7 separate regions of the Homo sapiens genome follow, and all the other regions are linked to region 1. The links are contacts of gene promoters, found by promoter capture Hi-C in blood cells and fetal thymus (Javierre and others, 2016). All regions are on one chromosome and are shown on one strand. Each heading gives the region's core, a stretch centred on a gene start or on the middle of the fragment in contact. The rest is flanking DNA. Distances are from core to core; before and after follow the strand shown. Region 1 holds the start of TENT5A (terminal nucleotidyltransferase 5A). Region 2 overlaps LOC124901351 (a long non-coding RNA gene). Region 3 has its middle 14 kb from the start of TTK. Region 4 overlaps TTK (TTK protein kinase). Region 5 overlaps TTK (TTK protein kinase). Region 6 has its middle 24 kb from the start of BCKDHB. Region 7 has its middle 7.6 kb from the start of BCKDHB.

Region 1 (4,106 bases), core at 412-2,911:
ACTAAATGCTCTCTCTATACACATGCTCACACAAGAATATGCATATGTATATATATGTATAAAATGCCTGGTTAAGATAGATTCATGCGCCGATGGCTGGTCAGAGGAACACATGGGTGTGCTCTGAAGGAAGCGATGGCCCTATGCGGACAGGGTAGTTGTCCTAGAGTCCCCAGGCGCACCTCAGTGCTTAGGCGCAGCGCTGAGGGGATGGCCTCTGCCACAGAGACAGTCGGATTTCTCCATTTTGGGACGCAGCTCGGCAGGGCACCGGGAGGGGGCGGCGTTGTCACGCAGCTGGATGCTCCACGGGTGACACCCCCGCACCCTACCCCTCACCCCCGAGCCGCGCAGCTTGAGTGACTAGGCCGGGGCTCCCCCAGTTAGGAGGTGCGGGCTGTTTTTCCTCCCAGTCTGGGCGGGCAGGGCTGAGCAGGGTTTGGGGAGTATTCTGTGACCCTGGCATTCTCCCCTCTGCCCCACCTCAGCCCCCGGCAGCGTCTAGGCGCTGGGAAAGCTGCTCCGGGTTAGTTGATGGAGGCAGCGAGCTGCCGAAGAGACGGCCACAGCTTTCTAGCAAAGAGTGGTGGTGGCGCGAGTGAGCGTGCGTAGAATTAGCTCTGCCGAAGTCACCGAAGCTGGAGGAGAGAATTCATTTTATTCTTGAAACTCCTACTTTTACGTCTCGTGGAAAACCAAATCGTATTCCACTGACACTATGATGCACTTAAAATGGCCAAACTTTAGGGGGCCGCGAGGAACGCGCTTCGCCGCCTCCAATTTTGTCAGAGAACTCGCAGCAAAGGCACCGGACACCTAGCGGCCCTTTCCCTGGACTCCGGGGCAGCACGCACTCCCCGGGCGCGCTCTCTGCGCCCACTCGGCCCGCCCAGTCCTCGGCCATTGGCTGCTCGCCCGCGTCTGCTCCGTGACGCGCCCTGACCCCCGCGAAGTACTGGCCCCTTGGAGCCACTCGTGCGCAGGAGCCGCGCACGCCCGAGGCCCGTGGTGCCGCCCCCGCGCCTTCTCGGGCTCGCCCAGAGCTCCCCGGCGCGCTTCCCGAGGTTTCGAGAATCGAAACCCAGTTATCAACAAGCCCTTCCCACTCACGCGCCGTGACTGATTTGCGTGCAAGAGTGGACTCATGAGTCCACACTTGGATCGGGTTTATCAATGGAGTAAATGGTCTACCTAAAAACCGAGGTTTAAAAGAGCGGTCGTGAGGAACCTCCGGAGCCCAACCGTGATGATCTAAAGACGGGCTGAGTCCGCGAGAATTTTGGGAAGTTTCTGCAGTTGCAGGATTTTAGTCGTGATCTGGTTTTGATGACCACTTATGATTCCTGGGGCATTTAAAGTGTCTCCTCCTGGGGAAAATGAAAAGAGATTTGTGGGAGGGGGCGTACATAAATTAAATGTATGTATAAATACACGCATCTACGGGCGCACACAGTATCCGCACATACAGCCCAGGACCTCACGCTCACCGGCAGTCGTCCCGCACTAACTGCTGGGCTAGTCAGCTGCGTGCCCTGCGGGCGGGGGAGGGCAGAGGGGGCGGCGCCCTATGCAGATGAGGAGGGTGTGGCGAACGTGCCGCTCTGGGCCCCGGAAGCGCAGAGAAGCCCGGTATAAAAAAAGTACTGAAGACATTTTCCCCGCACAACTGCTAAAGCTCCAGAGACACGAGCGTGTGTGGCAGCAAGAGCCGCCAGTTCGGGACCACCGCAGCTGGGGTGGCAGCGGCGCAGGAGGGGTCGCGGGGAGGGAGTGGTGAGCGCAGGCGGCAGGGGTCTGGGAAAGACGAAGTCGCTATTTGCTGTCTGAGCGCGCTCGCAGCTCCTGGAAGTGTTGCCGCCTCTCGGTTTCGCTCTCGCTCGCTGCGCTCCTAGAAGGGGCGGCCGCCTCCAGGTGACACAGACGGGACTCTCGCTTGCGCTTTCCAGATGCATCAGAGATACTTTTGGTGCGGGGCTGCTCTGCGGGGCGCGGTGCGCGGCTGGGGACTGTAAGGGCCGGGGGAGGGAGTCTCCGAGGAGGCCCGGGGTCAGGGAACTATCGGGGGAGGGGGCGCTCTTTTCCTGGCGGGCCTCTGCTCTCCGCCGCCGCGCGTGCTCTCCGCCGCCGCGCGTCCTCACCGCGCTCCTTTCCCTTTCTTTTTAGGACTGACCAGGGCCAAGTGGCGCTCGGCGGGCACTACATGGCGGAGGGTGAAGGGTACTTCGCCATGTCTGAGGACGAGCTGGCCTGCAGCCCCTACATCCCCCTAGGCGGCGACTTCGGCGGCGGCGACTTCGGCGGCGGCGACTTCGGCGGCGGCGACTTCGGCGGTGGCGGCAGCTTCGGTGGGCATTGCTTGGACTATTGCGAAAGCCCTACGGCGCACTGCAATGTGCTGAACTGGGAGCAAGTGCAGCGGCTGGACGGCATCCTGAGCGAGACCATTCCGATTCACGGGCGCGGCAACTTCCCCACGCTCGAGCTGCAGCCGAGCCTGATCGTGAAGGTGGTGCGGCGGCGCCTGGCCGAGAAGCGCATTGGCGTCCGCGACGTGCGCCTCAACGGCTCGGCAGCCAGCCATGTCCTGCACCAGGACAGCGGCCTGGGCTACAAGGACCTGGACCTCATCTTCTGCGCCGACCTGCGCGGGGAAGGGGAGTTTCAGACTGTGAAGGACGTCGTGCTGGACTGCCTGTTGGACTTCTTACCCGAGGGGGTGAACAAAGAGAAGATCACACCACTCACGCTCAAGGTAACACCACCCGAGATGCACTTGGGTCCTGACCCAGTCTGGGCCGGGTGTGACGGGGAGCGGGCAGAGGGGCATCGGTTAAATGCCATGAATCTGTGGCCATCACGAGTTTGGGCGCGCGTTATTTCTTTGATTTTTGATTTTTTAAACCAGTAAACTGACGTGCGTGGACGGTGTTGAGTGTTTCAGTTTACTTGATGCTTTGGCGCTACAACTCTTCTCCCAGGTCCTCCTCTGCCCTCTCTTCTCTTCTTTCTCCTTATGTTTTAACTCTTGGCTTTCCCTGTTGGAGTCTTGTCCAGAGTAGATTCTGATACTTGGCAGAATGAAATGATGTAAATAATTTTTGAGTCATTATATTTGAGTCTAGCCTTTGGGAAAATAACAGCCTGAAGCAGAAGTGAGTCAATGAGTTTTTTATTGTACTGGAAAAGGTGAATAGATTTCACAGCGGCATTCAGCTGACTACGTGTTAAAGGTCTATCTGGTGGTTCTTCGTGCTGGTTCATATGTTAAGGGTATAGTGGCACCCCCTCCCCACCCTCCACTTTAGTTCAAGACGGGTTTTATATGATTAGTTAAAATTGTCTGAGGAGGCAGGCTCCTGGAATGTCATAATTTAGTTTATATTTGATTGTAACTGCAGGGTGCCCCTGGAGGGACACACAAGATACTGATAACATTGATTGCCGCAGGCGGAGAGGAATTGGGTGGCTTGGAACAAGGGCGAGAGGCTGACTAACCTACCGCTGAATGCCCTTCCGAGTCTTTTGAATGTTGTTTGGATACTGTGTGAATATTGTGCCTATTAGACCGTTTTCAAAAAGTAACACTTAAAAAGTCAGACATGACAACAAAACCTCTTACTACTGTGCTACGTCTGCCAAAAGCCTCAAACTATTACCTCTAGTCCCTTTCCCAGACAGTAAAACTACTCGTTAAAAGTATTTTTTTTCTATTTTCAGAAGACCGTTTAAGCCTGTAGGTAGTGTTTGGCTGAAACTTGACAAAACAAAAGGGAAAGAGCAAAATAATTCTCAGCTGTGAAGAGGATGTATTTATTTATTGATTTATTATTTTCTAGGTTTGCTCATTTTGTTTTATCTTTTAAATTGTAGGAAGCTTATGTGCAGAAAATGGTTAAAGTGTGCAATGACTCTGACCGATGGAGTCTTATATCCCTGTCAAACAACAGTGGCAAAAATGTGGAACTGAAATTTGTGGATTCCCTCCGGAGGCAGTTTGAATTCAGTGTAGATTCTTTTCAAATCAAATTAGACTCTCTTCTGCTCTTTTATGAATGTTCAGAGAACCCAATGACTGAGACATTTCACCCCACAATAATCGGGGAGAG
Region 2 (4,106 bases), core at 655-3,154, 1.8 Mb after region 1:
CTAATGTTCCTTTCGTTTCCAGGATCCCCTCCAGAATACTAACTATATTATTTTAGTTTTCATGTTTCCTTAGGCTCCTCTTGGCTATGACAGTTTCTCAGACTTTCTTTGTTTTGGATGACCTTTATCATTTTTAGGAGTATTAATTATACATTTGTAGAATGTTTTGGGAACTTGTCTGATGTTTTCACATGATTAGACTGGGGTTGTGGATTTGGGGAAGAAAGACCACAGAGGTAAACTGTTATTTTCATCAAATCATATTAAGGGTACATACTATCAACATTTTTTATCACTGTTGATGTTGACCTTGATCATGTGATTGAGGTAGTATTTGTCAGGTGTATCCATTTTAAAGATACTCTTCTTTCCCTCTTTTCATACTGCACTTTTTGGGAAGAAGTCACTGGGTGCAGCCTACATTTAAGGAATGGGGTGTTATGTTCCACTTCCTTGAAGGTGGAGTATCTACATAAATTATTTTGAATTCTTTGGCAAGGGAAATTTATCTCTTCTTTCTTTCTTCTCCCCTCCCCACCTCGCTCCCTCCCTCCCTTTTTTGGTTCATGGCTATTTGTTTTACATTTTGGGCTACAGTGCAATACTACCTTAATTTGCTACTCAAAATGTTTCAGCTTTAGGCTTTGGTTGCGGTATCCCTTTGCCATATCCATAAAATTGGGGGGGGGGGTTTCTCTGAGTACTTCCTTACTTTCTGGCATAACTACAGAAAGTTATACCAGGCTCTTCTTACACATGTCCTGCCCCAGTCCTAGAGCTAGTTATTTTTTCAAGGATTTCTGGTTACTTAGATTGGAAAATGGTATTAAAAACCAAAATCTGGGCCGGGCGCGGTGGCTCACGCCTGTAATCCCAGCACTTTGGGAGGCCGAGGAGGGCGGATCACGAGGTCAGGAGATCGAGACCATCCTCGCTAACACGGTGAAACCCCGTCTCTACTAAAAAATACAAAAAAAATTAGCCAGGTATGGTGGCGGGCGCCTGTAGTCCCAGATACTTAGGAGGCTGAGGCAGGAGAATGCCGTGAACCCGGGAGGCGGAGCTTGCAGTGAGCAGAGATCACGCTACTGCACTCCAGCCTGGGAGACAGAGCGAGACTCTGTCTCAAAAAAAAAAACAAAAAAACAAAAAAACACCAAAATCTGGATGCGACGTGTGCTTGTTGCCTGTAGAGTATCATTTACTCTTAGCCCTCTCAGCTGACAGGGCAAAGGAATACATGTGTGTATACTGACCTGTGTATTTACAGACAGTCCCTGACTTATGATGATTTTTTAACTATATCATGGTGCAAAAAATCATGCACATTCAGTATGCTCCCCAACTTACAGTGGGGCTATATCTGGATAAACCCATTATAAGCTGAAAATACCTTAGTCGAAAATGCACTTTTGACTTACAATATTTTTAATTTATGATGGGATTATCTGAATATCAAAGTTCAGGAACATCTGTAAACATCTACATGTAAAACTCTTTGCATCTATATTAAGCCAAACGGGAGTTTATGTTGGTGTGTCCAACTCTAATCTACTACAATAGGGATCATCCTAGCCTCCTCCCTTTGCTTACCTTTAAATTTACACTTTAATAGTAAGAAACCTGGCTTCCACTATTTGCCATTCATTTACTTAATTGTTCAATTCTAGTACACATACACAGAAGTATCAGAATTGTTGACTCATAACACTGTGGGAAATAACTATATCAACTACAGTACATTACCTATGTGCTGTTCCTTTCTCTTTTAGTCTTACAGATTACTCATTTTCAAATGGACTTAGGTCAGCAAATTTTATCCCAACACCTTTCAGTGAGGTTGTTCTATACATTTTGAAATACAATTAGATTATATTGTCACAGTCTATATTTCATCCTGGAACCCTCCAAATTCCAAAATAATTTTGGAAATTTTGCATACATTAAGGTTTACTCTTTGCTGTAAAGTCCTATGGGTTGTGAGAAATGCATAGTGTCGGCAGGGCACGGTGGCTCATGCCTGTAATCCCAGCACTTTGGGAAGTGGAGAGGGGGGTGGATCATTTGAGGTCAGGAGTTCAAGACCAACCTGACCAGCATGGTGAAACCCCGTTCCTACTAAAAACACACACACACACACACACAAAAGCTGGGCGTGGTGGCGCATGCCTGTAGTCCCAGCTACTCAGGAGGCTGAGGGAAGAGAATTGCTTGAACCCAGGAGGCGGAGGTTGCAGTGAGCCGAGATTGTGCCATAGCACTCCAGCTTGGGTGACAGAGCAAAACTCTGTCAAAAAAAAAAAAAAGCATAGTGTTATTTATCCACCATTACAGTATCATACAGAATATTATCACCACCCAAACAAAATCCACTATACTTCACATATTCAACTTTCTCCCCTCCCCTTTAGCCCCTGGCAACCACAAATCTTTTTTTTTTCTTTTTTCTTTTTAAAGAAAGGAATCAGGATTAACCAAAATCCACATATAAAAGGAGAAACCTTGCAGATTTTTCAAATTTCTATATATCCTCTTTATATTATGATTTATAGCCCTCATTATGCTGTACCTTTACTCCATTGATTCTATCATGAGACTTACAGGAAGAAACAGTAAAACTGATCTCCACAGGCCCACTATCATGTTTTTTAGTCTAGTTTGTGCAGTCCTATGCATATGCTGCAGGAAGGGATGACTCTCCATAGTTTCCACTGATAGGAAGACCATATGAATAAGGGAAGAGAAATATAAATGAAACATCCATATAATCTAGCAAGGCTTTCTTGCTCTTTTTAATTTTTATTTTTATTTACTTATTTTTATATTATTTATTTATTATTTTTAACTTTTACTACAGGTTTAGGGGTACATGTGAAGGCCTGTCACATAGGCAAACTCACATCATTTGCTGTACAGACCATTTCATAACCCAAATACTAAGCCTCGTACCCATTGGTTGCTTTTTTCTGTTCCTCTCCCTCCTCCCACCTTCAACTTCAAGTAGAACCCAGTGTGTTGTTCTCCACTTTGTGTCCACGTTTTCTCATCATTTAGCTCCCACTTATAAGTGAGAACATGCAGTTCTGTTCCTGTAATAGTTTGTTAAGGATGATGGCCTCCAGTTCCATCGACGTTCCTGCAAAGAACATGATCTTGTTATTTTTCATGGTTGTGTAGTATTCCATAGCATATGTGTACCACATTTTCTTTACCCATTCTACCACTGATGGGCATTTAGGTTGATTCCATGTCTTTGCTATTGTAAATAGTGCTGTAATGAACATGTGTGTCCACGTGTCTTCATGGTAGAATTATTTACGTTCCTTTGGGTATATACTCAGCATTGGGATTGCTGGGTTGAATGGTAGTTCTGTTTTTAGCTCTTTGAGGAATTGCCACACTGCTTTCCACAATGGTCAAACTAATTTACACTCCAACTAACAGTGTATAAACATTCCATTTTCTCTGCAACCTCACCAGCATCTGTTATTTTTTGACTTTTTACCAATAGCCATTCTGACTGGTGTGAGATGGTATGTCATTGTGGTTTTGATTTGCATATCTCTAATGCTTGGTGATATTGCATTTTTTTCATATGCTTATTGACCACATGTATGTCTTCTTTGAAAAGTGTCTGTTTATGTTCTTTGCCCAATTTTTAAAGGGCTTGGTTTTTTCTTGTAAATTTGTTTAAGTGCCTTATAGATGTGGGATATTAGACCTTTGTCAGATGCATAGTTTGTTAATATTTCTCCCAATCTGTAGGTTGTCCATTTATTCTGTTGATAGTTTCTTTTGCTGTGCAGAAGGTCTTAAGTTTAATTACATCCCATTTGTCAATTTTTGCATTTGTTGCAATTGCTTTTGGCATCTTTGTCATGTAATCTTTGGCAGTTTCTATGTCCAGAATGGTATTGTCTAGGTTATCTTACAGGGTTTTTATAGTTTCGGGTTTTACATTTAAATCTTTAATCTATCTTGAGTTGGTTTTTGTATGTGGTATAAGAAAGGGATCCAGTTTCAATCTTCTACATATGGCTAGCCAATTATCCCAGCATTAATTATTGAATAGGGAGTCCTTTCTCCATTGCTTGTTTTTGTCAGCT
Region 3 (4,106 bases), core at 448-2,947, 1.8 Mb after region 1:
AGGCTGTTTTTGCATTGCTATAAAGGAATATTTGAGGTTGTGTAATTTGTAAAGAAAAGAGGGCCGGGCACGGTGGCTCACACCTGTAATCCTAGCACTTTGTGAGGCCAAGGCAGATGGATTTCTTGAGCTCAGGAGTTTGAGACCAGCCTGGCTAACATGGTGAAACCCCGTCTCTACTAAAAATAAAAAAATAGCAGGGTGTGGTGGCACACGCCTGTAGTCCTGGCTGCTTGGGAGGCTGAGGCAAGAGAATCACTTGAATCCAAGAGGTGGAGGTTGCAGTTAGCCGAGATCATGCCAAGTGGCATTCTGAGCGACAGAGAAAGACTTCGTCTCAACAACAACAACAACAACATAAAAGAAAGAAGAAAGAGGTTTAATTGGCTCATGGTTCTGCAGGCTGCATGAAAAGCATGGTGCCAGCATCTGCTCGGTTTCTGCTGAGGGCCTCAGGAAATTTCCAATCATGGCAGAAGGTGATGGGGAGCCAGCATGTCACATGGCAAGAGCATAAGCAAGAGAAGGGGGAGGTTCCAGACTCTTTTTAAACAGCTGATCTCACATGAACTAACTGAGCGAGAACTCACTCATCACCAGGGGTATGACACTAAGCCATTTATGTAGGATCACCCCCATGATCCAATACTTCCCACTATGCCTCACCTCCAATATTGGGAATTACATTTCAGCATGAGATTTGGAGAGGACAGACATTCAACCTATATCACCCTTCTTAGTTTACCTAGACTAATCAAAATTTCAGATGAACCAAATAGACATGGGAAGAAATGTCTTTGGGGTAAAGATATGTATTAGTCAGCTCAAGCTACCGTAACAAAATATTACAGACTGGGTGGCTTAAAAAACAGAAATTTATTTTCACACAGTTCTGGAGGCTGGAAACCCAAGGTCAAGGTGCCAGCAGGGCCAGTTTTTGGTAAGGCCTTTCTCCTTGGCCTGCAGATGGCAACTAACTTTCTTTCTTTCTTTTTTCTTTCTTTCTTTCTTTCTCTTTCTTTCTTTCTTTTTCTTTCTTTCTTTTCTTTCTTTCTTTTTCTTTCTCTTTCTTTCTTTTCTTTTCTATCTTTTTTTTTTTTTTTTTTTTTTAGGAGGAGTTTCACTCTTGTTGCCCAAGCTAGAGTGCAGTGGCGCAATCTTGGCTTACTGCAACCTCCGCCTCCCGGGTTCAAGCCATTCTCCTGCCTCAGCCTCCCAAGGAGCTGGGATTACGGACACGTGCCACCACACCCTGCTAATTTTTGTATTTTTAGTAGAGACGGGGTTTCACCATGTTAGTCAGGCTGGTCTCGAACTCCTGACCTCAAGTGATCTGCCTGCCTCAGCCTCCCAGTCTTTCCATGTCCTCATGAGTCCTTCTCTTTCTGTGTCACAGTGGAAAGTGAGAGATGTCTCTGGTGCCTCTTCTTCTTCTTGTAAGATCACTAGTCCTTTTGTCCAGCACCCCATCCTTATGACCTCATTTAGTCTTAATTTCCTCCTTATAGGTCTTAACTCCAAACACAGGCACATTGGGATTAGGGCTTCAACATATGAATTTTGGGGAGACACATTCAGTCTATAACAAGGGATGTCTAGGGAGAGTAATAGAATAAGTCTAGTGTCTGAGAGCTGACTGTTCCTAAATAATATTTATTAGCTACTATGCAGATGTATAGATAAGCACTATGCAGATGTTGTGCATGGGCCAAGAATGTACCAGAAATCTAACAAACCTGAAAAGGAAACAATTCAAAAGTACTCCTCTGGTCCTGATTTTAATGCTATCCGCAAAACTCCTCCCTTTTTGAGAGGTCCTAAATTAATACTGAGTTATTTTAATTTATTTTCCTATGTTCCTTGACTCCACATACATTTCTCCTTTTCTCTGTAATTACTCTGATGAAGCCATCATAATCTCTTCCTAACAAGAATGATAGCAATGCTTCTCCAATTTGTCTTTTCACATTTACTCTTATTTGCTTTCAAATTATCTTTTAAAAGGGATAAATCAGACAAAGTCTTTGGTGGTTTCCTATTCTTTAAGCATGATATTCTTAATTCAGGCTATGAGGCTATATGATCTGGTCCTTACCTCCCTCTTGAGCTACATTTTACAGCAGTCTTCCAAGGCTATTCACTGTGTTTTAGCACATATGCTGTAGCTACACTGGACTTCTGGTTCCTCCAACAGGCATCTTTTCTATACACAGTTCCTTCCACCTGGGATAATCTTCCTCATTCTCCAGTGCCCTCTAGTTCCCTTTGTTCTTCAACAAGTCTCTGTTTCAGATCTTTTCCTCAGAGAAGATGTACTAGGTTAGGTTCCCTCATTACACTGTCTCTGCACACTTGACTCTGGATCTTAGAAAAAGATCCAAGGCCTAGAGGTCAGATACTTAGTTTCTCACTGTAGTTCTTGGCCAAGTCACTACTTTTCTGGAGTTCCTTGTGCCATGAACTGTATGAAGGACTGAATACTATCACAAAGATATTTTGTAAACACCTTCAGACTGTCAGGACTGACACACCAAAACCTATAGCTGGGGATGCAATGGGGGAGAGTCACCAATGGAAACCATCGCTCAGAGTTTTATAGTCTTTTTTCTAGCATGTTGGGTTGAAACAAAGAAGTACAGAATTTTGCATTATGTGCACATGTGGTAGGGTAAGGAGAACAGAAGGGCAGTGTGTAAAGGACTGACTAGGCTGGTTATTGTGGTTGAAGTTATAAGCCATATGTTTTAGGTTATATGATGTTTGTTCCTTAATAATGTATGTCAATTTAATAGTATCTTTTTGGAGGAAAAAATAAATATATAAGTTATGCACAATTTAAAAATAGTTTTATTCAGGCATTGTATACAGCAAACTATACATATTTAAATTGAACAATTTGATAAGTTTTGACGTATGTATACAGCCATAAAACTAAAACCACAATCAAGATAGTGAACATATCCATCATCCCCTCAAAAATGTTTCTTTGTGTCCTTTTCTTATCTCTCCCTCCCAAACAATCTTCTCCCTTGTGCCTCCAGGGAGCCACTAGGCTGCTGTTAGTATACCTTAGCTTATATTTCCTATAATTTCATATAAACGGAATCATGTAATATGTATTCTTTTTCATATGGCTCTTTCACTCAGCATAATTATTTTGAGATTCATTGATGGTGTTGCATGTACAAATAGTCCATTCCATTGTATTGCTATGTAGTATTCCACTTTATGGTTATATCATGATCTGTTCATCTATGTACTCTTTACCTGTTGATGCACACTTGGATTGTTTTCAGTTTGGTGTGATTACAAGTAAAGCTGTTAAGAACATTCATATAAATTATTTTAAGGACTATGTTTCCTCTTCTCTTGAGTAAATACCTAGGAGTGGAATGGCTGTATCTTCTGCTAGGTGTATATGCAACTTTTGAAGAAACTGACAAATTGTTTTCTAAAGTGGTTGTTGTATTAGTCAGGGTTCTCTAGAGAGACAGAACTATATATATATATATATGAAGGGGAGTTTATTATTAACTCACATGATCACAAGTTCCCACAATTGGCCATCTGCAGGCTGAGGAGCAAGATCACATTTTTCTGCTCGCTTATATAATATATTATATATATATTCATATTGTATTATATTATATTATATATATAAAGGGGAGTTTATTAAGTATTAACTCACATGATCACAAGCCACAATTAGCCGTCTGCAGGCTGAGCAGCAAGATCACATTTTTCTGCTCGCTTATATTCTAGCTGTGCTGGCATCTGATTAGATTGTGCCCACGAAGATTAAGGGTGGGCCTGCCTTTCCCAGACCACTGACTCAGATGTTAATCTCCTTTGCCAACACCCTCACAGACACACCCAAGATCAATACTTTGTATCCTTCAATCCAATCAAGTTGATACTCAGTATTAACCATCACAGTTGTAATTGGTCTACATTCCATCCACTAGCAGTGTATAAGTTACAGTTCTTCCACATCCTCTCTTACACTTAGTGTGGTTAATCATTTTTAATTTTAGCTACTCTAATATGTGTGTAGTAGTTCATTTTGGTTTTAATTTATTCTGATTTATTTATTTTTAATTAACTAA
Region 4 (4,106 bases), core at 683-3,182, 1.7 Mb after region 1:
AAAGTATACAGATGAAACTACATTTCCAATTACAAATAGCTAAAGGATAAGAACCAGGGTATAGCACTTCTGTGGACCTCCACAGTACCTAGCATTGTCTATCGATAACAGGAACCAAGAAAATGGCTGCAGTTTTTCTGTTTTTGTTTTTAATTTTTTGGAGCGGAAGAAAATCTCCTTTATTCTTGAGCTAGGTATTTGAAATAGAGATGAACAAGATGAAATCATAGTGATAAGACTTTAAAGCTTAACCTTGACAAACAAAATGTTCTTTTAATGTCAATATTTAGTCAAGTCTAAATATAATAGAAATGTAATTATAAAAGATAGTAATGAAAAACAATCGTATTTCTAAAGTTTATTTGCAAAATGATTCTCTGGACTGTAAGGAGCCTTTTCCAATATAAATATTACAAATGTTGGTCAGAATTAAGAATAGGCCAAAATAACTCTCCTTTAGCTGAGCTACAGGCTACATTCCCATTTCTTAACAGGGAATAAACAAGCAAATTGAGGGAAGGAGAACACACTGGATGTGATGAACAGTAATTCATCTGTACCTAACCTGTCCCACTTCTTGAAGCACTAGACTCAAGCAAAAGAATAATCATCTATCCCACTGACAGCGATTCTCCCCTTGAACTATCTGGAGCAAATATTTGTTCCCAGACCTCCTTCTACCCGTTATGGAGACTCTCAAACAAAACAGGAAGAGATTCTTAGCAGACAGCCTACCCGTAAGTGACAAATCCTCAAATATCAGTCTTTTAAGCTTAATGTTGACTTAATATTTTTTCCTTTTAAAGCTCCTTTAATGAATATTTTTAATGAGTGAAAAAGCAAAACAAAGTTATTTTCTCCACTCATTCCTTTGTTCCTGACAACATTTAGAGATTATCTTCTAAAACTGAATAAAAATTTAATCATAATTACTATTACTCAGTAAAAGACTTTAAGACCATTCTGCCATTAATCTTCCCATACGGACAACAAATTTTAAAAATTAAAACTCAACATACCTTTTCATAAAACAAGGTACAACTGAATCATCTGTCTTCACATCACAATCTGGGCTATTTAGAAGGTTAACTGGGACTCTTCCAAATGGGCATGACTAAAAATATTTTGAAAGATTAAATAACCAACTAGGAAATAAAGACTATCACCACCTTAATCAAGCAGATTGAAAGTAACTTACCTGTTTAGTTTTGTTAGTTTGTCTCAATGAATTCCGGTAACCTATTTCTGCATCTTGTGGTGGCATGTTCTCTCTAAACAGAAAGAAAATACCCCCAATTTTTCAAAGAACAATATTAATATGTATTTCTACTCTACTGCTAAACATTATCACACACATGAAAACATATATGCAGATACATGTAATTACATTAAAAAACACAGATGTACTTACATAGAAGATGAACATTTAAAAACTGTTTCCGTTTCCTTACCCATATAAAAACCTGGCTTTAGTAGTCTGTCCTCTGGAATCACAACTGTTGTTCCTATTCTGTAAATGCCCAAGTGAACCGGAAAATGATTCTTGGGCAGTTAATACCGTAGATGCTGTAAAAATTTTGAAACTATGATTAAATTTATAAGAAATAAGACAAGTACAAAAAAGTGATCTTACAAATAAGAATATTTTAAAAGTCAATTCATAGGAAATACTTGTCCCCAAGTAAGATATGCAGACATGAAGATGATACCAAGATAATTATCTAACTACTTCTTCAAATTCTCTTAAATTATATAACTATTTCCCCAGGGTAAAAGCACATTCTCTATTTCCAAAAGCAAAAAAAAAAAAATTCTCTTGCTTAGAGTTGTTTTTCATGTGTTAACGAAAGTTTAGTTAGCAAAAAAGACAAATTTGCATGGGGTTGTAGAGACTTTTTTACTTCTCAGTCTTACCTCCTTTACAATTTAATCTTAGATTTTAACCATTCTACATAAATAATATTTTTCTATAAATTATTATCCCGAATCTTTATTTGAAGTACTACCTACCACAGAAAGTATTAGTATACCTTAATAGTTACCTGATAAATTCTTCTTTTCCTCCTCTGAAAGCAGCTGCTTTTTTTGGAGGTTTAAATTCCGCAGGGCAATTTCCAGCATTTCTAGTGGTACTGCTCCACGTTCTACAGCTTTTTGAAGAAGTTGTTTACTTTTTTTGACATTACCTAACAAAGCAAAAGATAATTGTCATTTTTAGGCAGTAAAATGCCCACCACCCAGACCACCCAGATACGTATTCATCAGGACCTAGAAAAAAAAATCAAAAAGACTTAAGCAAAAATATTTATTCCAAGGCTCATGTATTTTATTTCATAGGCAAGTAAGCAATCTCTCACTTTTTATGCAGATAACCAACTCTCTTCTGATAACAATGCATACCAAATAGTTTCCTTGCAATATGTAGCTGACGTAATTTTGCATTAGTTTATCACCACTGTCCACTTTCAGAAGTAACAGAAGTGTAACAAAGCAGTTACCAACAGGGGACAGCAAAGGCCAATCACAACAGTTAGAAACAGGAGGGCATTCTAGATGTTACAAAAGTGCCAAGAGCATCAGTCTCTTACAACATGCTATAATAAGTATCATTCATAATGACATTTAGTTAAGGGAAGGATGACATCTTTTGTTAAAGAGCATCTTCCATCAAAAGGATTTTCGGGGAAAAACATAATAAATACAGATTAATCTTTAGCTGTCACACTCAGCTATACCAGCCTGAAAAAGAATGCAGAATAACTGAGGAACTATCATAATTACCTTTCTGAGTATGGACAGATTACCAAAAAAATTGGTAAACTTACCCCTAGCATTTGACATATAAATATTAAATGTATACATCACATATCTTACAGAATATTATCAACATTTATGGGAGCCATTGAGCTATGCTATGCACTTGGTACTTAGCGTATAAAAATGCTTAAGAGATGATCTCTAGCTTCTGGTAGTTTATAAATTTTTAAAAATATCTTTGATAGTGCTTACATCTACATTTACTAAGTAGTGGTAGAATTTCATGTATTGTGTATTTTAGCACAAGAAAAGAGAGAAAGGCTTAAGAAGCTTAATTAATCAGATAGCTTAGTATTGAGATCAGAGATTTCTTTAAGAATCTGGTAAAAACTGAAATGTCCTCCATCCCTATAAAAATACTCACACACCAGACTCTGCATAGGACTTCAGGGATGCTGCATTATTTCCTGACAGCCAAGCCATCAACTGTGCTCAAAATAATCATAATTTGACCACACTGCATTACTGTGCAATGCATTTGACCACATTGCATCACTGTGCATTACTACCACATTGCAGATAAAGTGGTATAGATAAAGTTCGTCTTTTTTACAGATAACTCAATTTAAGAGTTTCAATATTTACATGTTCTAAACATGTAAAATTTATGGTTGTTATTGAGAGGCCACAATACCTCAAGAAATTTTCAAGCAGAATGGAGAGAAAGAAGCCTTGCCAAATTTTCTCTAACAAGCAAGGAGGAATCCATTTTTCTAGAGAAGAAAGGGATAATAGTTCTAAAAAGTAACCTGATAGAGCAAAGGACATATTGGAGAAGACAATTACTAGGACTCAGAAATCATCTGAATGGGTAACAATTCAGGGTTCTCAAATTATTTCTGAGTCATATAATTATTTTCTCCAGGCTCAATCCTGGGGAATACTCTCCAGTGACCAATCCCTGCTATGGAAACCATCATGGGGATTCTTCCAATAGTGTTAATATGTTTATCACTGGCAGTAAATTGGATCACAGTTGTAGCAGAAACAAGGCAGTGGGAGAATGGAAACACCTGGCCAGAGGGCAGACTGAGGGTGTATCCAAAGGCCCTGGAAAATGAGAAAAGACTAAGGAATGGCCAGGTTAAAAATGTCTTAGGAAGAGATTGTCTTGGTCCTACCCAAAAAAATCCAGACTATGAAGAACCAAGTGAGCAAGAAATAGTTTCTACAGCAGTTTACTTTTTTATTTTAAAGAACTACCAATTAACGCTACACACACACACACACACACACACACACACACACACACAGATATATAGTTTACTTGACCACCAAGTTACATAGCT
Region 5 (4,106 bases), core at 709-3,208, 1.7 Mb after region 1:
ATTGAGATACATTGTCTATATATATTTCCTGTAACAAAGTATTGGGCTTCTAAACATGTATGTGTTGTAATTTCATCAAGGTTTCCCCACTCCTCCTTTTGTGCCTTCTCTGTCTTCTTCCTTTCATATTTAAAACTGTGAACATTGCCAAGGGAAGAAAGCAGTTCAATGTCCTTTCTCCACGGCTGCTGACAGTTTTTAGAATAAAGTAATTCTTATTTCTGACTCAACACTAATGTGAACTCTGGTTTCCTCCACAGGACTTCCCGCATCCCCCTTAGTATGCCCTACTCACTGTGGTTAGAGTTTCCAAAATGCAAATTGGATCATTTCACTTCCCTGCTTCAACCTCTTCCAAAGCTTCCCACCCTCTTAGGGTAAAACTTAAGGGCCCAGCAAACCTTGGGCCTCACTCCTTCCCCTTCCTGACCTCTAGCCACACTGTGGCCTCGTTTCAGTTCTCTTCTGACACTGGCCTCTTCTAGAAGGCTCCACCAAGCCCCTTCACTTGTCATCTGTGACTCGTCTTCTGGATTGCAACTCAAACAGGGCCTGACACTAGTAATAGCTAAATAAATGTGTTTTGAATCAATGCATGAACAAACTGGATCATTTTTGTTTTTCCTTTGTAATTTATTATATTGTTTCAATCCTTAAAACACTATCACCTCTTTCCAGTTAGTATCTACTGTCAGCTCATTATTTTGTCCATTATTCTTTCAAACTGTGCAAATTATACATAATGCAAAATTTACCACTTTAACCATTTTTAGGTACAATTCAGTGGCATTAAGTACATTCAGTATGTGATGATGAAAAAGTTCTGGTGATGGATGGTGGTGCAAATACCACTGAAACTCTATACCCATTAAACAGTAACTCCCCATTCTTCCTCCCTTCCCTGACAACCACTGTTCTTATTCTGTCAGCTAATTTTTTTATCAGTTGATTTTTATAGTTAATTACTCATGGGTTTTTTATTGTTTTATTTAAATAACAATTGCTACTAACATTTCTGATTTACTAAGTGTCATGCTCTGTATTAGGAGTTACGTCTATATTAACTAATTTAATCTTCACAACCATCCTAGGAGGTAGTTAGCTTTACTAATTTTATAGATAATGAAATGGGCACCGAAAATTTAGGTAACTTGCAAAAGATCACACAGACTGTAAGTAGTGAGGCTAAGATTCATGCCCAGTGTCTCCAAGGCCCATGTTTTCTACCAGTATTAAGCTGCCTCTAGGACAGTTACTAGAAACCAACTTTTGCCTCATCAGCAAAAAATCTTTCCTCTTAGTTTAGTTATTAGTATAATACATTCTAGCAGTACCTCATATTGCTATTCTGATATTTTTGAAAATTTACATTTCCAAATGAATTGTATACTAACAAACAAAATGAAGCTGCTCACTAGCAGCTGACAAAACACAACAAAAAGTAACGCTGGCCAGGCGCAGTGGCTCATGCCTGTAACCCCAGAACTTTGGGGGGCTGAGGCGGGCGGATGGTTTGAGGCCAGGAGTTTGAGACCAGCCTGAGCAACATGGTGAAACCCTGTCTCTAGTAAAAATACAAAAATTAGCCAGGTGTGGTGGTGCGTGCCTGTAATCTCAGCTACTCGGGAGGCTAAGGCACGAGAATCGCTTGAACCTGGGAAGCAGAGGTTGTAGTCACCCGAGATCGCGCCACTGCACTCCAGCTTGGGCAATAGAGCGAGACTCTGTCTCAAAAAATAAATAAATAAATAAATAAATAAATAAATAAAAATAAAAAATAAAAGGTAACCTTGATTCATAAGAGAAATTTTATCCAGCTATTCAAACTGGATCCTTTGGCCTAGTTATTAAGAGTAGCTTCGTAAGCTTCTTCAATAACCAACCTCTCAAAGCCACAAGGCACACTCTTATTAGAATATCAGAAAAGTTTTGTCTAGTGGAAATAAGAATGGCCAAGTTCTTAAGACCTTTCTTGATAACTAGATGCTATAAAAATAAAAGCTGTAAAACGGACTGTATCTTAACATATACCATCATATATAAAGCTTATCGAACCTGTAAATTTTGAAGTGGAGTGGCAAGTATTTGATGCTGTTGCTGCTGGAAACAGGCAGGTTGGCCATAAGGTGTTGACAACTGACAAGCAGGTGGAAAGTCATTCTTTACAACTGGAGTTCTAAAACTAGGAAATATATATATATTTTTATTTAAAACATTACAATTTAACAAATAAGTCTGATTCAGTTTCATGTATTTTAGACTGATATAAACTTAAAAGTGTTACATCAAACAGAACCCAAGTTAGTTTTCATGATATAGCTGACACTTATTCCAGATATGCCACCACCGGATATTTAATTTTGGGGAATTCTTTCTGAAAGTAAATATTTGTATGCAGACAAGAAATCTTTGTTTGAAAAGATGGCATTTAAAATACAAAGTGGTTAGGGTTATTTTATATGAATTTAGCAAACATCAGCTTGTGGCCGGCCATAGATTTTGAGTTTTTTTTTAAACAATAATGTTCTATAATGGCTTGCTAGAAATATCAGAAAGCCAATTACATCACAGGAGTTTGGCCTTTGAGCTTAAATCTGTCCAGTATACATTTGTGCTTTGTTTGCCTTTTTGCTATTAATATATCCTCAACACCTAGAACAATGCTTGGCACAAAAGAGCTCCACAAATATTTGTTAACAATAATTAACCTAGTATCACAAGAAATATCTATTATCGCTATTTTAGTTAGCAATCATTCTTTAGAATATTCTACATATAATAAAATGAGGCAATATATAGTAAAACTATATTAAGTAGGTAAGAGGCTGGGTTATAAAATCTTTAAGACCAGTTCTAATTAAGATCAAGGATTACATTATGAAAATGAAACGCAAAAGACAACACGGATTTAAGCTATCCCCTAAGACATTAAAGATATAGCCACCGGTTGATGGTTATAATGTATCGCATCCCTTTATTTCCTTTCTCTGAAATGTCATTCATTTTCTTTTGTAGTATCCCTTGTGTTCCCTATCAGCACACTCATCATCGAACTTCTTCACTTATCCATCATTCCTATTCACTCAAATACTACACCTTTGAATACCTCCAGAACTACATGAACTGTAAAAACCAATCTCTTCCAGAAGCTATCACTTTCCAATTAACACCACTTATGTGAAAAAATTCATCTACTCTTTATCTGCTCTAAGAATGCTAACCTTTAAAATCTCTCTCTTAATAGAGAGATATCTGTATGGCAATACATGATTATCAAGACGTTTTACATCCTTAGAATATTTATAGGTTGTAGGTACAGATTACGATATGACAGAAACTACATGCACAACAATCCTTAAAAATATGCATTATTGCAACCACTTCCCCCTTTCCATTTTATAGATGAAAACACTGATGCTGAAAAAATAATATGAAGATGGAAAGTCTTTAAAGTAAAAGAGCAGGATTTAATCCCAGATTTATTTGGCCCAGAAGCCCATGTTAATTCTATCATACCACCCTGCCAATCAAGCAAGGGGCCAAAGTAATTACCAGCTCATGTAATCATCCAAGGTATTGCTGCTTGGTGTCTTACAAATAGATTTTGGGTCAAACCATTTAGATGTTGATATTGGTGGTGACTGTTTTGAAACTGAAAAGACAGGTTGCTCAAAAGTGGTATGTTTCTGCTAAAACAAAATAAAGAACACCATGATTTAGTTTTTAAATTAGTTGCCTGTTCACTAGTTTTTACAAATATTATAACTTTTAAAATAAAATAATAACATATGATATACAAAGGCATACTAAAAGAGATAGGCATATATATACATTTTAGACTTTCAATAATTTTTTTAGTGTAGTTATTTTACTCCAAATTCTTAAGCCTAGTGCATTCTGCTCAAACTGATGGCAAGTACAGGGAAGGCACACAAAATTACTTAAAACAGAATTTAACATTCTCTTCCATCAGAGCTATTGTAACAAGTATTAAATTCTTATCATCTAAAATAGTATCCTGTGTTTCTGAAAATCAGCCTTTCTTTAATCAATAAAACTCTATTCCCTTCTCCTCAAATGTAGACAAATACTAATTACTTAGCAAA
Region 6 (4,106 bases), core at 726-3,225, 1.7 Mb after region 1:
CTCAGCCTCTCAAAGTGCCAGGATTATAGGTGTGAGCCATCACGCCCAGCCAGCAATCTGTGTTTTTAACAAGCTGTCCCAGGTGTTTATGATATATACTAAAGTTCTAAAGCACTGATCCAGATAATTTCTGTGTCTACCTTTGCTTTTCAAGACCTTGACATTTATGAGGAGTACAGGCCTGTTGTTTTGTAGGATATCCCTCACTTGGGCTTGTTGATGTTTGCTTACGATTAAATTCAGGTTATGCATTTTTTAGCAAGAATACAACAGAAATGATTTTGTGTCCTCTTCCTTGGGGCTTATTAGAAGACACATGGTATCAATGTGTTTCTTCAGCTTTGAGACTAACTGATCATTTGGTTAAAGTGGTATCTGCCTGGTTTCTCTACTGTAAAGTTACTATTTTTCTCCTTGTAACTAATTGTCTTGCAGGAAGATTCTTCGACACTATGTAAATACTTTCAGGAACTAATTTTATCACGCATTGATGAATCTTGATCTTAAAACAATTATTACTGTGGTGTTTGCCAAATAATGATTTTTCTATTTCCATCAATCTGTGCATGTTACTAAGAATTCTACTTTAAAACATGGCTTTTCATAATCCTTCATTTATATATTTGTTCAACGATTTATTTATATCAGCATGGATTCTTATTTTATTCATGGATTATAACTATCATCATTATTTTTTTTTGTTCCAATTGTCCCAGATTTAGTCAATGGGAACCCCTTCAAGTTGGCTCTTTTGTCTTTTTGGCATGTCCCATCATATTTGGAGTCTTAAGAATTTACATCTTGGTTATCTGCTTTCGGCATTCCACTCTCCTAGCGACGGCTTCAGTGAGTATGAACCACTTTTAGCTATATAATTTTTTTTTTCTGAGACAGTCTCACTTTGCTGCCCAGGCTGGAGTGCTGTGGAACAATCTTGGCCCACTGCAATCTCCGCCTTCTGGGTTCAAGCAATTCTCATGTCTCAGCCTGCCCAGTAGCTGGGATTACAGGCATGCACCACTGCGCCTGGCTAATTTTTGTATTTGTGGTAGAGACCGGGTTTCGCCATGTCACCCAGGCTGTTCTCGAACTCCTGACCTCAAGCAATCCTCTGGCCTCGGCCTGCAAAAGTGCTGAGATTACAAGCCTAAATTTTGTTTAATAAAAGAAAGATAAACATATTTTTGAAAAGATATAGGGCTGGGTGTGGTGGCTCATACCTGTAATCCAAGCACTTTAGAGGCTGAAAGGATCACTTGAGGCCTGGAGTTCAAGATTAGCCTGGGCAACATAGCAAAATATTGTCTCTCTCTCTCTACACACACACACACACACACACACACACACACAGACACACACACAACATTAAAAAAAAAAGATTTTTTAAAATCAGCACAAGAGAACAAGGTGAACTTGGCTTTCTAAGAATGACTATGGAAGCCCATCTTCCCAATGTTTTGAATTCATGATTCATCTGTAACTGAATATAAACATTTCTATTTGACCTAGTCTCCCAAATGTGTGAGAAAAGATGGCCCAAGGACTACCAAGAAGTTATCATCGCTAATGCCAGATTCTATAATTCCATACCATCTAAGCAACAGACTAGAGTCTTCTTTCAAAATTTTCATTATAGAATAGTCTTCACACAGTATACTGGCTGTAGATAAAATGCATCTACATTTTTCTATGTTTGGAATTACACATCACATATTCTTTCCTAAACGAGTAACAGTATTATTCAGAGAGGTTGGTAAAAGAGAGATTGTATTCAGAAAAGAGGCATTGTCTTCTGTACATCTTTGTGACTTAGTCTTGACATTCCTGGGGACAGAATTACCAGCCAAAGCCTGCAGGTGTTAAGTAGGGTATGTGCTTTAAGTCCACAATGATGCAAGACACGGTCCTAGCTGCTTTTCATTGCTACAGAAGGCTCAGGCTGGCCCTGTTGGACACCTACCTGTAGGATTTGTAACATAGGTGAAAGTTTAGGAAGTGTGAGTGACAAAATGCAGATCAAGTAGGAAGGATCACACAGTCTGAACCTCTTTCACTCAGGCAATCAGAATTGATGGCAATAACTGATTGATTTAGTTACGTATTTATTTACTGTATATTTACTGAACACCTGCTAGGTTCAAGGCCCTGAGATAGGTCCTCATGGAAACCAGGTTATGTGAGACATCTCAAAAGAGTCATTCCTACAGATTTAAATAAATTGTTTCTCTTAAAGAAAAAGAAAATATGTTTAAAAGTCTAAATAATTAAACACATACACATTTGAGTGTACATATATGCACACTCAAATAAGAAATTGCTGGGCAATTAAGAGGTGCTTTTCCATTGGTTGCTGCTCTTTTGCAATTCAGTGAGCAAAAAATTTCATTAGAAAAATTTCAGGGAAAAGCTCAAACTATTAAGAATAGAATTAAATTACATAATTTTATTTTTAATAAAACATAGTATGATTCTATTTATATGACATTCAAAAGTAGGCAAATTTAATCATAAGGAAAAAATCAGAGCAGAGATAGCAGGGATTTAGTAGTATCTGTTGTTACATAACAAACACGCCAAATTTAACAGCTTGAAATAACAAGAATTTATTATCAAATAATTTCTGTGGGTTAGAAATTTTGGACTGGTATAGCCCAATGGTTCTGGTTCAGGATCTCTCAGACTAAGGTCAGTATATTGGCCAGGGCTGCACTCATCTCAAGGTTTGACTTGATTTGGGCTGGTTTATTCACTTCCAAGATGGCTGTTGGCAAAAGGTCTTGGTTCCCTGCTAACTGTTGACAGCAGGCCTCAGTTTCTTGCCACATGGGTCTTTCCATAAAGCTACTTGAGTGCCCTCACAATTTGGCAGCTGGCTTCCCCTAGAGAAATTTGCAATGGTGGCCAGGCACAGTGGCTTGTGCCTGTAATCCCAGCACTTTGGGAGGCTGAGGCAGGTGGATCACCTGAGGTAAGGAGTTCGAGACCAGCCCGGTCAACATGGCGAAACCCTGTCTCTACCACAAATACAAAAATTAGCCGGGTGTGGTTGCACATGCCTGTAATCCCAGCTACTCCATAGGCTGAGGCAGGAGAATAGCTTGAACCTGGGAGTTGGAGGTTGCAGTGAGCCAAGATCATGCCACTGCACCCCAGCCTGGGCAACGGAGAAAAAAAAAAAAAAAAAAAAACCAGAAATCTGCAATGTCTTTATAAACCAATCACAAAAGAGAAAGTCCATCATTTCCACAGTATCTTATTGTTACCCTGGTCAACATTATTTAATGTGGAAAGACATTACACAGGGCCATAATATTAACAGGTGGTAATCATTGCAGGCCATCTTAGAGGCTGACTACCACAAGAGATGGAGGAAATAACACAAAGGAACTTTCTGGTGAAATCTTCTATATTATAATAAGTATGTGGGGCTGGGCATGGTGGCTCAGGCCTGTAATCCCAGCACTTTGGGAGGCCTAGGCAGGCGGAACACTTGAGGTCAGGAGTTCAAAACCAGCCTGGGCAACATGGTGAAACCCTGTCTCTACTAAAAAAACAAAACTTAGCCGGGTGTGGTGGTGCATGCCTGTAGTCTCAGCTACTTAGAAGGCTGAGGCACGAGAATCCCTTGAACCCAGGAGGCAGAGGCTGCAGTGAGCCGAGACCACGCCACTGCACTCTAGCCTGGACGACAGAGTGAGACCCTGTTTCAAAAAAAAAAAAAAGTATGTGGGTTTCGTGTGTATATGCATTAGTCAAAACTGTGCTGCTAAGATTTGCACATTTCTATCAGTGTGTGTGTGTGTGTGTATGTGTATATATTTCATTCAATGTATATATACAATGTATATAAGAAAAACTATAAATAATAATAATCAAGGAGGGGTAGAGTGGGGATAGAGGTACAGATGATGAAAGAATAGTAGACAATAGTTTTTGAAGTTGAATAGATTGGTGCAGGTGAATTTATTAGACTAAAATATTTTATATTATGCTTTATAAACATTCAGTTCAGAGGGTCACATAGAAGGAATCAGGAATTTCACATTCATTATGTTTACCCAAAGATGCATCAAAACATCAATTTCTTTGACTTGATATTAACGGAA
Region 7 (4,106 bases), core at 833-3,332, 1.7 Mb after region 1:
GGGATGCTGTCACAAAGCAGCACAAACTGGTTGCAGGAACGTATTGTCTGCGATTCTGATCAAGTCCAAGATCAAGGTGTCAGTGGGACCATGCGCCCTCTGAAACCTGTAGGAAAATTCTTCTTTTCCCTTTTGTTGGTTCTCTGGAATTCTTTGTCATCCCTTGGCTTGCAGTTGCATAAATCCAGTATGTGCGTTTGTTACCACATGCCGTCTCCATATCTTTGCACAGCTATCGTTTTATAAGGACACCAGTCATATTGGATTAGAAGCCCACACTGCTCCAATCTAACCTCATCTTAACTTAATCAATTACATCTGCCATGACCCTATTTCCAAATAAGCTTAAATTCTGAGGGCCAGGGGTTAGGTACTGGGTTTGGGGGTAGGGGAGTGTCAAGCTCAACATATCTTTCAGGGGACAGGGGCATAACAGTCAGAGACTTGGTTGCAGGAACAGAAGCTAACTGGATGAATGCTTTTGATAAACTATGGATGCTTTTGATAAACTATTAGGAGGATGTTTACATGGTTAAAGAGTTTTTATAAAGTGTTTTGTGGATTTCTTCAAATATGACCTAAAGTCATTTGGAGAAGGGTTAAAAATCTAGAGATATTTGGTCTAGATAAGATTTTAAAAGTGATGTATTAACTCTCCCTCAAAGTTTGATGGGCTCCCTTGTAGAGGGGTTAAATTTACTATTTAGCTCCGGAGGGAAGAATAAGAAACAGGAAGAAGCAAATTCTAGTGTAATATAAAGAGCTTCTTATTAAGTAGACTGTCATGGGAAGTAATGAATTCTCTATTACTGAAATAGTCAAGCACGAAATGGATGAACACTATTGAGGGAGCCTCTTGGGAGGATTTATGCTTCATTTACAGGTGGTTTAGCGTACTTCTAATTTTAAGAATTCTGATTCTACTATTCACTAGTGTGTACTGAGAGCCTTGCATGTGCCAGAGACAGTGTTTCAATCAACATTATTTTAAGCCAACCCCTGGTCTAAGCCAGCTGTCCCATCCAGCATGTGAGTTATTCCTTCTTCCCCTTCCTCGGCATCTTGGCAACTTCTCTCTGGCTTCTTATCTCCTGCAGGGGCTTGAGATGCACTGTGATCAGTCTTCCAAGCACTTTGAACCATGCTATGTAGACAGAAGCCGTGTAAGCCAGTCACTGAAGAAAGGGCATCAAAAAGTGACATTATTGGAAGTTTGGGCTCAGCCCAGGGGAAGGATTTAGATACAATCAATGGCTCAGAAAACGGCTACAAATGTTAATATCTGCCTGTATGTATAACAGTGTTTTAGAGAGAGCTACTCATCTGTAAAAATACATACCAGCCCGGCAGTAGTGATTTTTTAAAACTTCCCCAGGTAATTTATGAGTACTGCTAGGTTTCTCAAAGCTTAATTAAAACTATGGCTTACATAATTGTGAATATTGGGACAAAAGAAATTTGAGACCCATATCTTACCTTACCTCCATCACAAACTTTATTGGGAACACCAGGTGGTGACCAGTGTGGAAAAAGAGAGAAGAGCAAAGGGGCAGACAGGCAGTGGTCACCACCAAAGACCCTTGACAATTTGATTTCCTCACCATGTAAAGCCACTCCTAAACACAGGTAAAATAGAAGTCAGCCTATGTCACATGATGCACACATTTAACCTACCCAAATTCACATGAGACTTTAAGTAGAGCAATTGATTCTTTCCTTTTTTTTTTCAAACAGTGTAAGCCCTGGACCAGTGGTGCTCCGCCTTGACTTCACGTTAGGATCACCTAGGGAGCTTTCAAACATGCTAATATCCAGACCCCATGTGGAAAACAGTGTTGATACAAATGTTTCTATTCCCTCTGCTTTTAGGAACTCAGGTAGATTGAACTTCCCTAGCCACCTGAAATCAGGCATAGCAATGTGTCTTGATTTGCCAGTCAATGAATTTGACCACAAGTACAGACGGGCATTCTTGGGTGGAAGAATTTAGCACCTGGTAGCCATTTCTCTAGTTCTCTTCCTGTGCCTCATCAGGTAGTAACATTTCAGAAACTAGAGCATCCATAAGCTGTTACTGGAATGACACTACATGGAGAATCACCTGTCCTTCTTCCATACTTGTTTCACCTGGAGCATGACTGAGAAACAATTTAACAGTGTATATTTTTATCTTTTAAAAATAGAACATGGCTTCTAATCACAAACCTACTTTACATGGTGTTCAGCTATTCTAACATATCCTAACTCTTCAGGAAACATTCTCAGTAATATAGTTACTAAAAGTGCATTTTTCTACAACATGATGCATAAATGTAGCTACACATTATTATTGTGGATTTAAACTGTTGTCAACTGTAATTTTAGCTAGTCACAAGTTTTATCTTGCACTTAGGTTTTGGAATCTAAACACTTAAAACTGATGCAACTCTCCTCTACTGAAGAAACACCAAAATCTTTTCTATGCACATTTTAATCTCTTAAAACAACTTGATGACAAGGTCTTGCTACAGTCACTTTACAGATGAGAAAACAGGATCAAAGAGATTAAACTGACTAAGCTGAGTTTAAGCAGTTTAAAGTTTTCCAGTCTGTATTTTTCATATTTCAAAATGTGTGGTCTTATGCTGTGTTTCTCAAATTTATTTCTCAGAGTAATCCCTGAGAAACTTGTTCAAATTTTAGATTCTCTAGGCCCCACGCTGAGAAATTCTTATTCAGTAGGCCTAGGGTAGACTATCTGCATTTCTAATAAGCTTTCCCCCATCCAGTGTCTTTGATACAAATAGTCCACATATCACACAAACCCTATAAACAACAAACAGCCTTTATATACACTGTGTTCTCTGTCCAGAAAAGAACAGCTACCACCTTTCCCCACTCACTCTTTTATTAAGTAGGGTTATTAGGTCACAACTACTGAAATCACTTCTTGCTAACTTACACAGAATTATGATTACTTTTCAAAATACAGGATGGCCCACAAAAATTGAAGAAAAAAAGCAGCCTCAGAAAGAACAGAAACCAGGATGGCCCCAGAGATTCAGGTAACAGGAGTTAATTTAGAAATGTGTGAGAATATTAAAACTCATAGGATGAATTGGCTCCAATGTCTTTATGTGATTCTGCTCAAGATTCAGTTTTTAGGAGAGAGAATCTGACTAGCTTAGATTAGTTCATTACTATCCCTTGACTAAGGAACAGTAGGGTATCCTACTGACCAAGACTATATACAAAGTAAAAAAGATTTCCCAGACATAACTCAAGGGACTGCTACCAACCAAAGGGAGAATTGATGCTTGGAAGCCAAAAAAAGACCTAATGACTATATAGTTATCCTGCCCAGGAAGTACCCATGTGGTCCCTCTAGTCATTAAAAAAAAGAAAAGAAAAAAACCCACTATGAAAGTACTTCCTCTGAATTCTTCAACATAGACTGGAAAATTGCCACTAGAAGACTACTTAAATATACTTAGGAATTTCTGTAGAAAATGGTGGTAAAGTTGAATATTCTTATATCCTCTCTTTTAAAAAGAAAGAGTAAAGGGGAGCAAATTAAACACACACATTTTACATATACAGCATAGTTAGGACAGAGACATCTACAAACTAAAAATTTATGGGAAAATGAAAAATAAACAGACAACATTTGGCTCACACAGGTAGAGGGAGTCTAGAGAAAGCTTTATTTGGAGCAGAAAGATCATCTGAATAGTCCTAAATCTACAAAAGAAGCTAAATTTATACCTTAAAATGTCCCAACAAACAAAACTTCAAGCCCAGATTGCTTCGTTGGTGAATTCTACCAAACATTTAAGTAAGAAATAATGCCAATTATATAAAAAAATCTTCCAATATATAGAAGAGAGGGTAATATTTTCCAACTCATTTTATGATAATATTAACCTAATATTAAAATCAGATAAAGACACTATAAGAAAAGAAAACTACAAATATTCCTCATGAGGATAGATGCAAAAATCTTTAAAAAAGCAAATATAATAAAGCAATATATAAAAATAACAGTATAACAAGGCCAAATGGACATAAGAATTCATAGGAATGTAAGGTTGATTTAACATTTGAAAATCAAGCAATGCAATTCACCA

What was found. Contacts are between HindIII fragments. The CHiCAGO score rates a contact against its expected background, and 5 or more counts as called.
Region 2: a contact is called between a fragment that was not itself captured here and the fragment with the promoter of TENT5A in region 1, in 4 of 17 cell types (fetal thymus, naive CD4 T cells, naive CD8 T cells and 1 more). The highest score is 7.9, in fetal thymus.
Region 3: a fragment that was not itself captured here is called in contact with the fragment with the promoter of TENT5A in region 1 in 6 of 17 cell types (fetal thymus, naive CD8 T cells, neutrophils and 3 more); the score reaches 9.9 in fetal thymus.
Region 4: a contact is called between a fragment that was not itself captured here and the fragment with the promoter of TENT5A in region 1, in 12 of 17 cell types (naive CD4 T cells, total CD4 T cells, naive B cells and 9 more). The highest score is 15.9, in naive CD4 T cells.
Region 5: a fragment that was not itself captured here is called in contact with the fragment with the promoter of TENT5A in region 1 in 5 of 17 cell types (total CD8 T cells, naive CD8 T cells, total CD4 T cells and 2 more); the score reaches 7.7 in total CD8 T cells.
Region 6: a fragment that was not itself captured here is called in contact with the fragment with the promoter of TENT5A in region 1 in 2 of 17 cell types (neutrophils and total CD4 T cells); the score reaches 8.9 in neutrophils.
Region 7: a contact is called between a fragment that was not itself captured here and the fragment with the promoter of TENT5A in region 1, in 12 of 17 cell types (naive CD4 T cells, total B cells, neutrophils and 9 more). The highest score is 23.1, in naive CD4 T cells.

The regions. Positions count from the first base shown.
Region 1 is chr6:81,750,236-81,754,341 of GRCh38, reverse strand. TENT5A (terminal nucleotidyltransferase 5A) reads left to right here and starts at 1,661. Exons shown (of 3, transcript NM_017633.3): 1 at 1,661-1,911; 2 at 2,164-2,752; 3 at 3,871-4,106. The coding sequence starts at 2,201. RefSeq lists enhancers at 590-639, 1,500-2,000 and a silencer at 1,460-1,589. The HindIII fragment of the contact is 5,877 bases long and covers 1-3,876 here.
Region 2 is chr6:79,969,052-79,973,157 of GRCh38, reverse strand. The region is part of intron 1 of LOC124901351 (a long non-coding RNA gene); the gene reads right to left. Among named protein-coding and RNA genes, the nearest start is that of ELOVL4, 24 kb to the right of the region's middle. The HindIII fragment of the contact is 8,436 bases long and covers 1-4,106 here.
Region 3 is chr6:79,988,389-79,992,494 of GRCh38, reverse strand. No RefSeq gene overlaps it. Among named protein-coding and RNA genes, the nearest start is that of TTK, 14 kb to the left of the region's middle. The HindIII fragment of the contact is 8,753 bases long and covers 1-4,106 here.
Region 4 is chr6:80,008,894-80,012,999 of GRCh38, reverse strand. It overlaps TTK (TTK protein kinase), which reads right to left. Exons shown (of 22, transcript NM_003318.5): 5 at 2,043-2,186; 6 at 1,452-1,566; 7 at 1,199-1,271; 8 at 1,020-1,114. Among named protein-coding and RNA genes, the nearest start is that of TTK, 6.3 kb to the right of the region's middle. The HindIII fragment of the contact is 2,315 bases long and covers 775-3,089 here.
Region 5 is chr6:80,025,961-80,030,066 of GRCh38, reverse strand. TTK (TTK protein kinase) reads right to left here. Exons shown (of 22, transcript NM_003318.5): 12 at 3,553-3,689; 13 at 2,056-2,182. Among named protein-coding and RNA genes, the nearest start is that of TTK, 23 kb to the right of the region's middle. The HindIII fragment of the contact is 179 bases long and covers 1,869-2,047 here.
Region 6 is chr6:80,080,297-80,084,402 of GRCh38, reverse strand. No RefSeq gene overlaps it. Among named protein-coding and RNA genes, the nearest start is that of BCKDHB, 24 kb to the left of the region's middle. The HindIII fragment of the contact is 6,761 bases long and covers 1-4,106 here.
Region 7 is chr6:80,096,984-80,101,089 of GRCh38, reverse strand. No RefSeq gene overlaps it. Among named protein-coding and RNA genes, the nearest start is that of BCKDHB, 7.6 kb to the left of the region's middle. The HindIII fragment of the contact is 1,346 bases long and covers 1,410-2,755 here.